Regions from separate parts of the Homo sapiens genome. Here all the other regions are linked to region 1. Evidence: promoter capture Hi-C in 16 types of primary human blood cells and fetal thymus (Javierre and others, 2016). All regions are on one chromosome and are shown on one strand. Each heading gives the region's core, a stretch centred on a gene start or on the middle of the fragment in contact. The rest is flanking DNA. Distances are from core to core; before and after follow the strand shown.

Region 1 (2,700 bases), core at 185-2,684:
TGCGCCTGTAGTCCCAGCTACTCGGGAGGCTGAGGCAGGAGAACCACTTGAACCCAGGAGGTGGAGGTTGCAGTGAGCTGAGATCGTGCCACTGCACTCCAGCCTGGGTGACAGAGCAAGACTCTGTCTAAAAAAAAAAAAAAAGTCTCATACTTAAATCCTGCGTCTGACAACCATATGAGTTTCTGGCAAGATTTAAACTTTCAAAGGCACAATTTTCTTATTGGCTAGATAAGAATAACAATTTTCACCTTGCCAGTTTGTAGTGAAGATTTCAGATAATGAATATAAAGGAACTGGTATAGACCATGGCCCATAGTAGGTGCTCAATAAATACCTTTATAAAGAAACAAACACATTGCAATTCTGATATGACGGCTGCCTTCTTATTTAGAAGACTATTCTGCTTGGTTTTTTTTTTTATTCTAATTTCTTTGGATTTATAAGCATCCCCCACAGCTCTTTCAAACCAAGGATCTTCACAGATAACAGTGTCTAGGGAATCTTTCTCTGTTCTCCTAAAACAAGCACTTATTTTTAATGATGGTCTTATATTCTATAAAAATATTAAAATAACATCTTCATATGTAGTATTATATATGAGGGAAAGAGACATTTGAGCCAGTGTTCACACTTGACCATGTTCACACTTTTAACCAGGTAGAGACTCGTGACTTTGACTCTTATTTTGGCCTTTACTCAGGCTCTGACTGCAGATAAGAATCAGTTTTGCCTAAATTTCAATTGCTTGGGAAAGGTCCTCGATAACGGAAGTCTACATAGAATTGTGAATAAATACCCCTGTGAAAATAAAGGTTAAGTCTATATGTTTACTTGATAAAGCAGATAATTTCAGAGTATAAACACAGTTGTGTTTTGACTTCTCTTCCTTTTGCCTTAAATATAGATATTTATTTGTGTGTGTGTGTATGTGTGTGTATTTATATATATATAAAGTTGCCCACTGTGATCCACCACTGCTGGAGCAAATCCAGAACTAGAACTTGGTCTCCTGGCCTTCAGCCCAGAGCTCATTACAGTCTCATTCTAAAAACAAGTACTTCATACTGATTGCATTTCTACACACACATATGCAGATTTCTGGACACTCTTTCTGTTTTTCTTTCATTTATGTTCTCAATGCTGAACCTTTATTAGAATTACATCATCACTGTGGTTCTTTAAATAAGAAACAAAACTCTGTCACAACATCTGAGGAAATTATCTTTTAATGTCCCCAAGCTCTATGCCTTGGAAAAAAAAAACTTCCTCTGCTGTTCAAGAATAACAGGCCCCAGAACAAGCCCCAAAAATAAATGACAAAGCCCATCTTACTCACAGGAGGAAAGGATCATGGTAGCCCCTTCTGCGGGGAGCACACAACAGTCTTCAGTTCTTCTGCGGTGCTCTACTCACAAAAACACATCTTTCAACTGAAATCATAGTTCGCTCAAGATGTTTCTCACGGGCAGAGTTAACCCCACCTATTTTCCTGTTCTGAAAACCTCAGAAGAGTATAAATGACAACCAATGGCATATATAAGAAAGCTCAGTAATCTCCATCCCAATCTCTGAGGGTATCTGCTATTAGTCTCTCATCCCCAAAGGTGTGGGTGACTCGCAAACATCATTTTCAAGAAATCACAAAATTTTGGTAAAAGGCACCTTTAAAATTATCAAATCAAACTGCCCTCTCTGGACTGGGAAGGAAATGAAGGCACAGACAGAATAAGGGACTTGCCCAAGGCCACACCGTGAGTGGCAGAAACAATTAGATTCTAGGCTCTGGAATATTGAGTTTAGAATGTTCCATCCTCCCACTCAGCAGACACTTTATTTGGGGGAAGTCAATCTAGTAATAACCCTAAAATGTGATTGGGGGATGGCTGAGAAATATAAAAACACCAACAATACAAAACACACTTGGGAGTTTCACTTCATCCCACTGGAAAGCATAACCATGTGTCAACTAATTAACAGAGCAACTTTAATGAAGACACAGCATATTCTAATCGCCCTTCCAATTTCCTGGTTTAGATTAAGGTCTCCTTAGCATTCTGGGTGATGACTGTTATTTTTACTTCACCTTTTGCCTTTGTTATGCTTTCGTATAAAACTTTTTTTCTAAGTCTTAGTGAAAAATATTTAAAGATTTTTGAAGGAAATGTTGACAAATGTTGCCAGGTGCTATCTATCTTGTTTTCCCATAAAAAGCATACACTGACCATTAGGACAGGGACTCTATCTTCTCCTCACTCTCTTTCATACCACCTAGTACTTCCCGTAGCTCCTCAAGGTGAAAAGGGAAGTATGGGATGGGAGGAGGGAAGGTCAGGAAGGAAGGAGAAAAGGCTGACAGTGATAGTAAGGTAGAGTGTGCCAGGACCGACTCCTTCAATGAGCTACAAGTCAGTTAAAAGTTGTGCATGGTTAGCAACCAAAATGCCCATCAATGATAGGCTGGATAAAGAAAATGTGGTACATATACACCGTGGAATATTATGCAGCTATACAGAATGAAATCATGTCCTTTGCAGGGACATGGATGGAACTGGAAGCCGTTATCCTTAGCAAAGTAATGCAGGAACAGAAAACCAAACACCACATGTTCTCACTTATAAGTGGGAACTGAACCATGAAACACATGGACACAGGGAGGGGAACAACACATACTGGGGCCTGTTGGGGAGGGCAGATGAG
Region 2 (2,700 bases), core at 184-2,683, 650 kb after region 1:
CTTATATAGCGACTATTATGTGTTAAGAATAGTGAGAAAATGGGGGCCAAGTGCAGTGGCTCACACCTGTATTCCCAGCACTGGGAGGCCGAGGCAGGTAAATCACTTGAGCTCAGGAGTTCGAGACCAGGCTGACCAACATGGTGAAACCCCGTCTCTACTAAAAATACAAAATTAGCTGGGCGGGGTGGCGCGTGCCTGTAATCCCAGCTACTCAGGAGGCTGAGGCAGGAGAATCGCTTGAACCTGGAAGGCGGAGGTGCGGTGAGCTGAGATGTTGCCATTGCACTCCAGCCTATGCAACAAGAGTGAAACTCCGTCTAAAAAAAAAAAAGAATAGGGAGAAAATGATGAATATGTATCCATTCTCCAGAGAGTATGTCATGAATCTCCACCTATAAGGGGCACAGTTTTTACCCTTTATTTCCTTCAAAGCTCTTGCGTGGAGACTATGTATTCACCAGAGATTTTTCTATAGTAAAATTTTTAAAAATCCAGAGCATGGTGTGATGGTGCACACCTGTAATCTCAGCTAGTGGGGAGGCTGAGATGGGAAGATTGCTTTGAGCCCAGAAGTTCAAGGCCAGCCTGGGCAACATAGCAAGATCCTGTCTTTTTTTTTTTTTTTTTTCAAAAAAAAAATCCAACTAATGGAAGCTGTCAACCAAAATCATTTCCCCTGTCCCATTAATATTGATGAGAATAAGTTAAAAGAAAATAAGTCACAGTAGTTTGATTTAATGAAAAAATTCCAGGAAATAGTTCCACAGTCTCCTAGGTCTCCCAGAGGAGGTCCAAGTCCTTCACTCTCTAAAGTTAAATGTGTTGCTTTGTAAAATAAGAACTGATATTCATTGAGTATGTCACTGAAAGGTCTGCAATTATCAGTAAAAAATTCAATTGTGTTCAGTATATTTCACCTACTGGGTAGAATGTGGATATTAATACATTTTTAGAAAGCTTTCCAATTATCTCTTGCTTAAAACCCTTTAGAGATTTCTCTAGGCACATTCTGAATATAAACACCGCAGCAAAACGTACAAGTCTCTTTATAATCTGACTATAGGCTTCTTCTCAAATTTCTTCCCTGACCACTCCCTCGTTTGACACTGGAAGTGTCTGCTCTCTCAATATCAACTATCATGTTCTTTCAAGCTTCAATGCCATTCCCTTTGTGTAGAATAGCTTTCCCCTCTTTGCTCATCTGAAGGACACTTCAATCCATCCATCAAACTGATGGCCCAATAGAAGCATTGCCCTCTTTATGCAGTCTTCTCTAGTTGCACTCCCTTCCTTGACTTAATTATTCTTTGTGCTACTTTTCTACTACATATATACTATTTTGTTATAGGTATCACTTTGAATACAGAACTTAAATGTTTCTTTTCCTGTCTCTTGTACTAGTCTGGTTTGTTCTCACAGAGCAAAGCCAGGATTATGTATCATCGCATGGGCATCATTTAGTATGATGACTGGCATAAGTGAGGCTTTCAGTACAGCATGTCAAATTGAGCTGAATGAGCACAGCTGAAACCAAAAAGTTAACCTACAATGTGAAAATCTAATTAACCACAAGACCATTCTAGGAGCATTCTAATTACTTGATATTTTATTGCAAATCTATCTTATCAATTAGTAAAAGATCACTGGTTCTCAGACTTTTTTATTTCATGAACTGGTAAAATTTCCAAGGAATTTTTAGGAACTGACATAAGCTTATCAACTTTTTAATTTTTCCGTGTAAGGTACAAAAATAAATATAAATAAAACTTCTATCTATTCTCATTATTTCATAAAATAAGAATATTTTAAAGCCAGACCAGGTGTGGGGGCTCATGCTTGTAATCCCAACACTTTGGAAGGCCAAGGACAGGCAGATCACTTTAGCCAGGAGTTCAAGATCAGCCTGGGCAAAATAGCAAGACCCTATCTCTGCAAAAAAACAATAATCAAAAAATTAGCTTGGTGTGGTGGTGCATGACTGTAGTCCCAGTTACTCAGGAGGCCAGGGCAGGAAGATTGCTTAAGCCTAGGAGTTCAAGGTTACAGTGAACTATCATTGAACCATTGCACTCTAGCCTGGGTGGCAGAGTGCAACCTTGTCTTAAGGCAAAAAAAAAACTTGGAAGGCTGAGTGGGAGAATTGCTTGAGCCCAGAGGTTGAGGCTACACTAAGCAGAGATCAAACCACTGTACTCCAGCCTGGGCAACAGAGGAAGACCCTGTCTCTAAAAAAAATTAAAAAATTAAAATGGGGAAGATTGTAACATCAGAATGAAAGTTATTGAATTAAATAAACTTAACATTATGAAAACTTGCACAGACCTCTAGTTGTGTCTAGAATACTCTTTGCACTTTACCGGTACTTGATCAGGTGCTTCTTTGCAACTTTTTTTTTTTTTTTTTTTTTTTTTGAGACAGAGTCTTGCTCTGTCGCCCAGGCTGAAATGCAGTGGTGAGATCTCGGCTCACCGCAACCTCTGGTTCCCGGGTTCAAGAGATTCTCCTGCCTCAGCATCTTGAGAAGCTGGGACTACAGGGTTGCACCACCATGCCCGGCTAATTTTGGTATTTTTAGTAGAGGCGGGGTTTCACCATGTTGGTCAGGCTGGTCTCAAACTCCTGACCTCAAGTGATCCACCCACCTCGGTCTCCCAAAACACTGGGATTGCAGGCATGAGCCAGCCTCTTTGCATCTAC
Region 3 (2,700 bases), core at 179-2,678, 820 kb after region 1:
GACAAATCTTAAATAAATATTATTTTAAACTCTAGGGACACAACAGTGAATACAGTACACAAGATTCCTGCATTTTTGAATATGTCCATTCTAGTGGGGAGAGACAGAAAAAAAAGTAACAGAAACAGAAATGTGTGTAATAGTGGCAGAAACAAGTATAATTAAACATCATTAATGTAAAACTATTCAAAATAATACACGAACGTAAATAAAGGCTATTTTCTAGCTAACTAAATCACCAACTGTTTTCTGACACAGATATTCAAAAATACGAACACAGTGAATTTAAAGCCTATCTTCTCTAGAAGAAAAGTCAAATTAATAAGGTTTTATTGTTATCAAGGTGTCAGAGGCATGTGAACCAGAGCAACTCTGTCTTAAATAGGAGCTGGGTAAGATGAGGCTGAAACCTACTGGGCTGCATTCCCAGGTGGTTAAGGCATTCTAAGTCACAGGATGAGATAGGAGGTCAGCACAAAATACAAAACCTGATAAAACAGCACAAAACATAAAACCTGATAAAACAGCTTGCAGTAAAGGAGACAGCCAAAACCCACCAAAACCAAAATGGTGACGAGGGTGACTTCTGGTCATCCTCACTGCTACACTCCCACCAGCGCCATGACAGTTCACAAATGCTACAGCAACGTCAGGAAGTTACCCTATATGATCTCAAAAGGGGAGACATGAATAATCCACCCCTTGTTTAGCGTATCATCAAGAAATAACCGTAAAAATGGGCAACCAGCTGCCCTTGGGGTTGCTCTGTCTATGGAGTAGCCATTCTTTTATTCCTTTACTTTCTTATAAACTAGCTTTCACTTTGCACTGAGGACTTACCCTGAATTCTTTCTTGCATGAGATCCAAGAACTCTCTCTTGGGGTCTGGATCTGGACCCCTTTCCTGTAACAAAGGCAGGAAGTTATTTAGCAAAATATGAAAGGCAATTTGAAAATGTCTGGGACACTTAAACACAAAACATATTTATAATTAATTTCCAGAGAATCATGCTGGGTCAGAAAGTCTTGGTAACAATAGATAACACTGTATTTTTTTCCTCTTCAGTGTATTTATGTGCATATTTAGATGTGTAAGATGCAAAGATATATAAGAGACTACTGTTACTTTTTTACTTTTACTACTTTTACTTGCAAAGAGCCTATAGGAGGAAACAGATACATCAGAAAGGTAACAAAATACACTACGTGATACTGGTTCCAACTACTGAGGAGAGTGTGTGGAGCCTTGACTTGAGGGCTGGGAGAAGCTTCACCAATGTCACAAATAACTTTTGAACTTGGCTTTGAAGTGGGCTTCTTCTGCTCAGATAAGAAAGAATTACATTGACAAAGGTGAGGAGGAAGTAGACATAGAGAAAATTAGCTAATATTTAAAGAGTTCTAAACACCCTATTTGGTACGCAGTAGATACTCTGTAAATATTTATTCAGTGAATAAGCATCCTTGTTAGAAAAATGTCATTGTAGCCATTTTGCAGATGAAGAAATGGAGGCACAGACAGATTGTTCTAAAGTCACGTAGCTAGAAGTTGTGGAATTAGATATTGACTCCTAAGTTGCCTGCCTAACAAGCTTTATGTTCTTTCCCTTGTCCAGATGTGTGGCGAAAGTGCTCACATGTGGTATAAAGTATCAGATGCCTAGGTGAGGGAGTGGAGGGGGGTGTTATGGCCAGAGGTGAACTTAGAAACACAAGTCAGAATGGACTATAGCAGTCCTTAAGATGACATTCTAGGGAACATGGAAGGTCATTTAAGGAAGCTACCAAAGATCTTAAAGTAGGGGAATGATGTCATCAGTCTGTCTTTCAGGAAGATCAGTGTAATAGGATGGAACTTGCAGGCAGGGGTGGGTGCGGGAGTGATGAGTGTAGGCTGATGGGCAAGTTAGGAAACGCTATTGCTCAGAGCTAATATGGATGAATAGGAGACTGAGCCAGGATAGTGGCAGTGGAAATGGAGAAGAAGAGGCATAAGGACTGAAAACATATTAGAGGAAGAGTCACCACCACTCATTGACCAAATGGATTTGAGGGAAGGGAAGGGAAGGGAAGGGGTGCAAGATGGTGCTGGGATTGCCAGCCTTGGTGAATGACGATGCCCTTAGCTGAAACAAAGGATGGAAGAAAATGCAGTCAGTGGGCAGAAGACAATGTTTTGGACATTTTGAGTGAGACATCCAAAGTGAGATGTATAATGGACAGGGGGAGATATAAGATAAAAACATAGAAGAGCAACTGGAATAAGAGAATGTTGGGAATCATCAGCCTCTAAGGGACAGCTGAGGCCGGAAGGATGAGAGGACCAGGGAAAGGTGTAGGAGAGAAGAGAATGGGGTGGGAAAAGGAGGGGAGGGAGGGGAAGGCATGGGTAGAGGAAAAAGAATCAGCAAATGAGACAAAGGAAGAAAAGGACAGAGATGTAGGAGGAGAGCCAGAGGGAGAAGGGTCATGGATGCCAAGGGAAGGGCCTAGAAGAGGTGAGTTTGGCTGACTGGAGGTTGTTGGTGGCCTCACTGAGATCACCTTCCCAGGAGTAGAAGGGGCAGAAGCAGGGTTGAGGGCTGAAGAGAGAGTGGATGATTCAGTGGTAAGGAAAGTGAGTTCAGTCTATTCTTTCAAAGAATTTAAGAGCCAGAAAAGTAGAGGCTCTGGATAACCTGAGAGGCAAGTGGAATAAGA
Region 4 (2,700 bases), core at 41-2,540, 710 kb after region 1:
GACCCTGTGCATATAGGGTCAGTTTATTGCATATTCATGTTAAAATAGTTCTCAAACTCCAGAATTACTAAAAAGATGTATCAGTTCATATTTGTATCAGCTGGAGTCTATGAATAATATTTCATATATGTGTACTACTAGTTTTCAAATGATACAGTATAAGAGTGATAAGAGTATGGGCCAGGCATGGTGGCTCACACCTGTAATCCCAGCATTTTGAGAGGCCGAGGTGGGTGGATCACTTGAGGTCAAGAGTTCAAGACCAGCCTGGCTAACATGGTGAAACCCTGTCTCTACTAAAAATACAAAAATTAGCCAGGTGTGGTGGCACATGCCTGTAGTCCCAGCTTCTTGGGAGGCTGAGGCAGGAGAATGGCTTGAACTCGGGAGGCAGAGGTTGCATTGAGTCAGGATTGTGACATTGCACTCCAGCCTGGGTGACAAAGCGAGACTTCATCTCAAAAAAAAAAAAAAAAGAGTATGGACTCTGAGGCCTGATTGGCTGGATTCAAATCCCAGCTCCACACACAGTAGCTGTGAGATTTTGGACAAGTTCCTGAGGTCTGTGCTATACTTTTCTTATCTATAAAATGGGGATAACTGCCTAGCTCATGAAATTATTATAGGGATTAATGCAATTTAATTAAGTGTTGGCTATCTTTATTAAATAGCTATTAGTGTTATTATGATTAATGAAATAAAAATTTTTATTGACTACAGTTAGGAATATAGAGTAGCTTTTTGTTACTGTGAGGGGAGAAGAGTTCAAATAATTGTAGGGATTCTTGTATATATTGAATATAGTTTGGGACTGTGGTAATAATGTGCACTAGGTTTTGGTCAGCAGTATTACTGATTTGCCTATAGAGACAGATTATTTAACAAAATAGATATTACATACTGTAGTGGAAAAGGCCACTGACTAGGGAGTCAGGAGACTTGGGTTCTGATCTCAGCATTACCACAAACTAACCAGCTGTGTTGCTTTGAGCAAATGACTTGTCTTTTCTGGATATTAGTGTACTCAGATTGGAATGAGGACTAGATAATCTCTGAAGCCTCTTTCAGTCTTACCATTGTCTTTTTCTGTGACATAAAGTAGAATACCTGAGTTGGAATGAGACCTTAGGTCTAATCCATTATTCCTTTATAGCATGAGAAGAAGCTATGCAAAGACATTGTGGTGAATGGCAGAACTAGTACTAGAATCTCCTCGAACAGACTATTACTCTGCATTAAATGGGGAAAGCATTATCCATTGTAGAAATGGCCAGCTAACTCATTGCCTTTTATTCTTATATGATTCTTCAGTGCTTCATGTTGCAATCCTTGAGTCAAGCTGGAGAAAAATGATTGCAAATTGTACTGGTGCTGTAATTAAAAGGGATTTGTCCTTTGCAAAACCTTAAATGATAAATGATAATGCATGAAGGCATTCTAACTAGCCAACATTAAAGAAACCATATTTCCAGCAAAGGTAAAATCTGTTAGTAAGTAGGATAGCATGAATTCAGACCTTAGCGTTTGTGCAATTTGTGTGTGATGGCAAAGTTAATGCCCTATTCCAAAGTGATGGATTTTAATCATGAAATCTGTAATAATTCAAATGTCTTAATTACTTTGGTTCTTAAATTGTCCATATATGGTTTAGACCAGAGTTGAACAAACTAGCCCATGGACCAAATCTGTTTTTGTATGCATGAGCTAAGAATTGTTTTTACATTTTTAAATGGTTAAGAGGCTGGGTGCAGTGGCTCACGCCTGTAATCCCAGCACTTTGGGAGGCTGAGGTGGGCTGATTACTTGAACCAAGGAGATCGAGACCAGCCTGGGCAACTTGGCGAAACCTCATCTCTACAAAAAAAAAAAAAAAAAAGAAAAAAGACAAAAAATTAGCCAGGCATGGCGGTGCATGCCTGTAGTCCCAACCACTTGGGAGGCTGAAGCAGGAGGATCATCTGAGCCGGCAGGTTGAGGCTGCAGTGAGATGAGATTGTACCACTGCATTCCAGCCTTGGTGATAGAGTGAGACTTTGTCTAAAAACATAAAATAAGATAAAATGGTTAAGAAATCAAAGGAAAAGAATATTTCATTACGTGTGAAATTACATGAAATTCATATGTTTGCATCTAAAAATAAAGTTTTGTTGGAACACAGCTACGTTCATGTGTTTTTGGATTGTCTTTCGGTGCTTTTGCTTTAAAACGGCAATTGAGTAACTGGGACAGAGATTGGCCCACAAAACCCAAAATATTTACCATCTGGCTCTTCATAGAACGTGTTTGCCAACCTCAGGTCTGGAACAGCACTGTCCAGTGTGGCAGCCAGTAGTCACATGTAGCAATTTAACTTTAAAATAACTTGCAGTGAAAGGATATAAAGCAAAATCATAAAAGGAAAGGGAGCATGGGGTGAAGTCCGGCGGAAACCAGGTCCCAAGAGTTCTCTTCCCAGGGAGTGTAAATTTCTCCAACAGCTAGTCATAACAATGTGTGAAGTTGTATCTACCCGGGGAACTCATTAGAGACTCAGTGCCCACAGTTTTTATTGGGGGCTGGTCACTTATTCACCCTCTGCCTAACAGGTACCAAAATTCCAGACTCCTAGAATGAAAGCAGATGTTTGGCATGAACTGTATTTGTACAAACAGTTTGGGCACAGTGAGCCAATTACGCATATCAATGGGGGGAACTGTTTAC

What was found. Contacts are between HindIII fragments. The CHiCAGO score rates a contact against its expected background, and 5 or more counts as called.
Region 2: a fragment that was not itself captured here is called in contact with the fragment with the promoter of TXK in region 1 in 2 of 17 cell types (non-activated CD4 T cells and activated CD4 T cells); the score reaches 6.9 in non-activated CD4 T cells.
Region 3: a contact is called between a fragment that was not itself captured here and the fragment with the promoter of TXK in region 1, in 1 of 17 cell types (erythroblasts). The highest score is 5.6, in erythroblasts.
Region 4: a fragment that was not itself captured here is called in contact with the fragment with the promoter of TXK in region 1 in 1 of 17 cell types (non-activated CD4 T cells); the score reaches 7.2 in non-activated CD4 T cells.

What each region holds. Positions count from the first base shown.
Region 1 is chr4:48,132,816-48,135,515 of GRCh38, forward strand. It overlaps TXK (TXK tyrosine kinase), which reads right to left and starts at 1,435. Exons shown (of 15, transcript NM_003328.3): 1 at 1,340-1,435. The coding sequence starts at 1,355. RefSeq lists a silencer at 877-1,171. The HindIII fragment of the contact is 7,086 bases long and covers 1-2,700 here.
Region 2 is chr4:48,783,460-48,786,159 of GRCh38, forward strand. No RefSeq gene overlaps it. Among named protein-coding and RNA genes, the nearest start is that of FRYL, 4.5 kb to the left of the region's middle. The HindIII fragment of the contact is 560 bases long and covers 1,154-1,713 here.
Region 3 is chr4:48,956,945-48,959,644 of GRCh38, forward strand. No RefSeq gene overlaps it. Among named protein-coding and RNA genes, the nearest start is that of CWH43, 28 kb to the right of the region's middle. The HindIII fragment of the contact is 324 bases long and covers 1,267-1,590 here.
Region 4 is chr4:48,838,976-48,841,675 of GRCh38, forward strand. The region is part of intron 3 of OCIAD1 (OCIA domain containing 1); the gene reads left to right. Among named protein-coding and RNA genes, the nearest start is that of OCIAD1, 9.2 kb to the left of the region's middle. The HindIII fragment of the contact is 3,511 bases long and covers 1-2,700 here.